Linked DNA regions of Homo sapiens: region 2 is linked to region 1. Evidence: promoter capture Hi-C in human tissues and cell types (Jung and others, 2019). All regions are on one chromosome and are shown on one strand. Each heading gives the region's core, a stretch centred on a gene start or on the middle of the fragment in contact. The rest is flanking DNA. Distances are from core to core; before and after follow the strand shown.

What was found. Contacts are between HindIII fragments. The study calls those that stand out against the background at their distance.
Region 2: a contact is called between the fragment with the promoter of REPIN1 here and the fragment with the promoter of ZNF282 in region 1, in 1 of the 25 tissues and cell types used here (aorta).

What each region holds. Positions count from the first base shown.
Region 1 is chr7:149,193,984-149,196,969 of GRCh38, reverse strand. ZNF282 (zinc finger protein 282) reads right to left here and starts at 1,424. Exons shown (of 8, transcript NM_003575.4): 1 at 1,216-1,424. The coding sequence starts at 1,380. RefSeq lists an enhancer at 357-406 and silencers at 847-1,206, 1,327-1,648, 1,467-1,756. The HindIII fragment of the contact is 19,438 bases long and covers 1-2,986 here.
Region 2 is chr7:150,367,373-150,370,358 of GRCh38, reverse strand. REPIN1 (replication initiator 1) reads right to left here and starts at 1,537. Exons shown (of 3, transcript NM_001099695.2): 1 at 1,418-1,537; 2 at 491-688. The coding sequence starts at 647. The region is part of intron 3 of REPIN1-AS1 (REPIN1 antisense RNA 1); the gene reads left to right. RefSeq lists enhancers at 1-353, 354-1,159, 1,160-1,964, 2,004-2,063 and silencers at 624-773, 1,284-1,753. The HindIII fragment of the contact is 15,434 bases long and covers 1-2,986 here.

The sequences.
Region 1 (2,986 bases), core at 175-2,674:
AGGCCCTCAGGCTAGGAAAAGGGGAGGCCTGCTGCTTGGGGCGATCTGGGCAGACCAGCCCCACTCTCTGACTCAAGAGCAGCCCTGCTCCGGGGCAGACCTGCTCCGGGACACAGCAGAGTGGAGAGCAGGGCCCTAGGATCGCCAGGCCCTGTAATACCAGTAAGAGGTGCTGGTGTTTCCATCAAAAGCACCCATTCCTCCATCACAGAGGCTCCACTCCGCCCTAGCCCACAGAAGGGGACAGAGTCCACAGTAGAAGTTAAGAAAGTCCCGGGGCCCAGTTTAGTTTTCTCGGGTTTGAAGCCCTAACCCTGAAAATGATCAAACACAACACAGCAGCCCCTGGCTCCCTCGTTAGCACCTGGCTGAGAGCCGCGTGGTGAGCAGAGGGGCCCCTGAGCAGCCCAGCCCCAGGGTGGGCCCAGAGAGTCTTCCCTGGGCAAGCTTTCAGGCCTCTCTGAGGATCCACCTCCCCTGGTTTTATACCCAATTCTGGAGCACCGGTTCTGCCCACGGAGATCATCGATGGAGCCTGAAGAAATGCCTGGTGCTACTCTCACCCGTCAGAGACCCTGAGCTCTGGGACCAGGCAAGGGCTCAGGAGTCTTAAAAGCTGCCCAGGCCATTCCAACATGCGGCCAAGTTTGTCAACCGCAGGAAAGACCCCGAAGTCATCTCTCCATGGCCCCCTCCCTGGATCACACCCGGTGCAGGGGGAGAGTGAATTACTCATTACACTTGGTGAAAGGTGGTAATCAAACATTTAAAAAATATCCCCGTCAAATTGGCCACCGTGTAAACACGAACGAGGCATTCACTTCTGCGGCCGGGCGGAAGCACTGCCCGCGAAGCTCTCCGCCGGCCGGGCGCAAAGGGAGCCCCAAGCCGGGGCTCAGCCACAGGGTCAGAGCTCTGCCAGGTCCCGGAAAGGACGGTCCCGGCCCCCGCCCCGCGGGGCCTCCGCACTTGGGCCCGGCGACCGCTGCTCCGCGCCGCGCGGGCCAGGCCTGCCCTTCCGGGCCTGCGTCGGGCCCGCTCCGTCCTGCCCGCCGCGCAGCCCGGCCGTGCCCCGCCCGCCTCGGGCCTCGCCTGGGCGCGGAAGCTGGGAGGGCGCCGCAAGGCTACCGGAGGACGGCGCGGCCCGGTCCCGCGGCCCAGCCCGCGCCCCGCCCCCACGGCAGCGCGGCCATGGCGCCGGCGGGGTTCTCCCACCTGCATGGGCGGCATTCCCTCGGCCATTTCCCCGCGCAGCGCCGGCTCCTGGTGGCAGACCTCCTCCGGGGGCAGAGCCTGGGCCCAGCTCCAGCTCCCGCTGTCCAGCCCCAGGCCCTGGATGCCCAGCTGCTGAGGCTGCGGCCGTGTTGACACAAACTGCATCCTGGGAGTGCTGTTCCCCGCTCGGGTCGGCCAGGGAGAAGAAGAACGTTTTCCAGGCGCCTTCCCCCTCTCCGGGGCCGGACAGCTCCATCTACAGCCCGTAGGAGCAAACAGTCCCCTTCGGCGGCGCTCCCCGCCCCTTGGCAGCCCGCGCGCCAGCCAATGGCCTCGGAGCTCCTGCCCGCCTGCGGGGACCTACCGGGGCCACTCCCGGACTGGGGTCGCCACCGCCCCAAAACTGAGAGGCGGCGGCCTCGCCCAGGGGTCAGGCCCCCTCAATCTGGGATGGCCGACTTTAAAGGCCCAAACTATGCGAGGACCTGGACTGTGGGCTTGATTACTGTTAATTCTGCAAATGTATTGGGCATCCCGGGAGAAAATAGTGCCTGACCCTTGTGAAAATTTTGCAGGAGTAATTCTGTCTTCAGACACTTTCTTCTGGCCTTCTGCCTTCCCTCACTCCTTTGCAGACTTTACCTCCCACTCCCCTTCTTCCCAATCCAGATTTACCTGGACCCATCCCAGAGCTTTTGCACTGTTATGGATGATAGAGAAGTGATTCATGTTAAGGTGTCAAAAGAGGGCTGAGCTCTTTCTCCCAGGTAAGGTGCAGTGCATTTTAACAGTGGCCTCTTCAAACACCTTGAAATTGGGTTGGGCGTGGTGCCTCACACCTGTAATCTCAGCACTCTGAGAGGCTGAAGCAGGAGAACGACTTGAGCCCAGGAGTTCGAGACCAGACTGAGCAACATATTGACACCCCATCCCTATAAAAAATAAAAATTAGCCGAGCGCGGTGGCTCACATCTGTAATCCCAGCACATTGGGAGGCTGAGGCAGGCGGATCACCTGAGGTCAGGAGTTCGAGACCAGCCTGGCCAACATGGTGAAACCCCGTCTCTACTAAAAATACAAAAAGATTAGCCGGGCGTGGTGGCGTGGGCCTATAATCCTAGCTACTCGGGAGGCTGAGGCAGGAGAATCGCTTCAACCTCCGAAGCGGAGGTTGCAGTGAGCCAAGATCGCGCCAGTGCGCTCCAGCCTGGGCAACAGAGCGAGACTCCATCTCAAAAAATAATAATAAGGCCGGGCGCCGTGGCTCACGCCTGTAATCCCAGCACTTTGGGAGGCCAAGACGGGCGGATCACGAGGTCAGGAGATCGAGACCATCCTGGCTAACACGGTGAAACCCCGTCTCTACTAAAAATACAAAAAAATTAGCCGGGTGTGGTGGCGGCGCCTGTAGTCCCAGCTACTCGGGAGGCTGAGGCAGGAGAATGGCGTGAACCCGGGAGGCGGAGCTTGCAGTGAGCCGAGATCGCGCCACTGCACTCTAGCCTGGGCAACAGAGCAAGACTCCGTCTCAAAAAAAAATAATAATAATAATAATAAAATAAAAAATAAAAATTACCCGGGCATGATGGCTAATGCCTGTACTCCTAGTTACTCAGGAGGCTAAGGCTGTAGGATTGCTTGAACTCAGGAGTTGGAGGTTGCAGTGAGCTGTGATTGTGCCGTTGTGCTCCAGCTTGGGCGGCATAGCAAAGATCCTGTGTCAAATAAATAAATAAATAAACCTTTAAATCGGGCAGTCATGGTGGCTCAC
Region 2 (2,986 bases), core at 288-2,787, 1.2 Mb before region 1:
AAGGCTCTCCCTGAATCCAAGGAACACCCACAGCCTGCTGCCCTCGGGGCCTGATCACCGGCTCTGCCTCCCTCGGGGTGCTGGAGATTACTGGGGCAATAGAAGGGGAGGGAAGATGAGACTGCAATCTCAGTCCCCTGCCCGGTCCTGCCCCAACCTCGCCAGGGGCTGCCCCATGTTCAGCTCTTCCACAGCTCAGGGGAGCCCAGATTCCTGCACAGGAGCCTCCTCCGCGGAAGGAGGAAGGAAGCAGTTAGGCTCCTAAGGGCCCTTCTGTGCCTGCTCACAAGCTCCAGACACATCCTTCTAAATTCCCTAGAGCGCACTCTCTCTTCTCAGGGAACACAAAGGTCACTCATTCCCAGTGTCAGACTGTGCACAGGGAAGACCCCAGGATATGAGAAAGGGCCATTTCCTTCCGCCGGGATGGGGACGCCCGTGCACCCCTGTTGTGGCGTGGTTTGGGAGCACAGCAAAGGCCAGACTCTACCCTGGAGACTGCAGAGCTGGGGATGAGGCTTTTTCCAGCTCCTCTTGGGGATGTTCCTGGGGATACTTCCGCGGCTGCAGCGCCTGCTTCGGCCCACACTCCGGTAGCCCCCAGGTGTTAGAGAAAACTGCAGTAATAAAGACACCCCTATCCCCATGGCAGAGCTCAGACCTCTGACTGCAGAGAGGCCAGCCTTACCTGTGGGGAGGGAAGAGAAAACAGAAGTGAGGCTCTGAGCTCCTCTAGGGCAGTCAGCTTTGTGTCCTCACCAGCCACAACCCCTCCCCCCACAAAGCCACACGCACCAGCCATAAGCCCCACATCCTGCCTGGCAGAGTGACCTTAATGGACATTGGATTAATAAATGAATGTGCCCCTTCAACAAGGAAGCACACTGCTGTCTTTCGGGGTCACTTTCTTCCCTGGTAAGGTCACGGAACGAATTCTCCATTCTGTGGCCAGAGTCTGGGCTTTCCCTGATGGCCAAAGGCCGGCCTATGGCAGGAACTCTGGAATCCCTGCTGGCTCCCCTTCCCCCAGCCTCCTCCCGACAGGAATTCCAGGCCTATTTCCCATGGGGCTGCGCAGGGCCAGCTGGTGTGACCACGACTCCGTCAGAATCCCCTTCCGCATCGCGGCTGGCCGCGGGTGGCAGAAGCCCCACACCGCCCTTTTGTACTGATGCGTGTCCTCCGTCCACGCTCCCGGGCACACGGGTCCCGTTCTTGCGAGTGAGCCATTTCGGGTCCCACGCACGGCGCAGCTCGCGGAGCCTGTGCGCAGGTGCGCTCCCCCACCCCCGCAGATCCAGCAGCGTCCCCCCCCGCGCACTCACACACGGTCGCGCACACTCACGGTCACGCGCCCCGCAGGTGGAGCGGCCCCCCGCGGGCCCGCGGTGGCCCCGCGCCCCTGCCCCGGCCGTACCTCTGCGGCGGGCTGTGCAGGGACGCGGCGCCCGTCCATGGAGCCCGAAGGCCGGCCTCCGCGGCCCACTCTCGCTCCCCGCCCCGCCGCGGCGACAGCGGCAGGTTCGAGTTCACAACTGCCAGGCCCGTCCCCAACCTCCCCCCGCCGGGTTCCCAGCGCCACGTGACTACAGGAGCTGCCGAGGGTCAGTCGCCGGCTCCCGCGGCCGCGGCCTGGGGGCGGGGAGGGACTGCCGGGGCCGGGGCGCGGGCGCCCCCGCCAAGAGCGGGCCGGGTCACTCAAGCCACTGCCGCGCCAGGGCGGCAGGCCTCGGAGGGTCGGACTCCGTTGCCATGGCGACCACCAGCCCGGGTTTCTCTGGGACTGGCCGGAGCTCAAGTTTCCCGACCCTTTGTCCCTGCGGAGCACGCGCGTCCCCGGGCGACCGCGTGGCTGGCCTATGGTCACCGGGGTGTTCGGCCTTAGCTGCCTTATGAGAGGCTGGGAGCCCGTCGGGAGACTTCAAAGAGGGCTCCGGCAAGCCCCCGGAGCGTCGTTGCCCGGGCCTTTCTCAGGCCGCGCACCCCGGCCGCAGTGCGGACGCTTGCGGCCGCGGCGGTCCCGGGACGGCGGTGGCGCACCTGGAAGGCCCTAGCTTCCGATTTGTTCCAAAGTGGAGCACAAAAAGGCCCGATCCTGCGAACTTTGAAAAGGCCTCTCTTCACTCTTTTCTAGAAATTAAGAAAGAGCAGAAGTTGCTGGGCTTCCTCTGGCTGCGGGCCAAGCGTGGGGCGACGGCCGAGGTGGCCGTTGGCGCACGTGGGGCATTTCGCTTGGAAAGGCTCAGCAGCCTGTGTGGCGTCTGCGGTGGCAGGTGCGAGCCTGTGCCCATGACTCACCCACTAGCAGGTGGCCCTGGCTTTCCAAACTAAACACTTCCTGGGGTTTCCAGGGTAGTACAATTTCATGTACTTTCATGCTTTTCAACACAGGCAATTTTTGAATTGTATAATTAGTCGTAAAAATACTTTTTAAATCTATTGCATAAATAGGAAATAGGGGAACATAAAACTCAGTTTTACCTCGTAGAGTCAATTACATTTAATATTTTGGTATGTTGCCTCCGGTGTTTTCTCTACGTATATCCATGGCATGTCTGGCATAATTGGAATAATGCCTTGCGAAGATGTATTCTGCCTTCTTCACTTAACACGATCTTGTGAATTTTCTTCCATTTTATTAGATATTCTTTTAAACATGATTATTTATGGCTGTATAAAAGGAATATATTTTTTAAATGTTTTCTAAATTATCTTCCAGGAAAACGTATTAGTTTTCCCTGAGAAATGCCCATTTTCCATATACTTGACAACACAGACTTTTTTAAAAAAAAAATTTAGTTTGAAATGGTTATTTCTCATCTTTTGTACTTGCATTTCTTAGAGTACTAGTTAGCTGGATTGTTTTTTCACATGGTTATTTTTTGCCAGTTTTATTTTCTCTTGTGAATTTGTTTATGTCCATTTGCCCACTTTTCTATTTGCCCATTTTAAAAGTTGGGGAGTTGGTTTATTGTTTGGGGGGCAC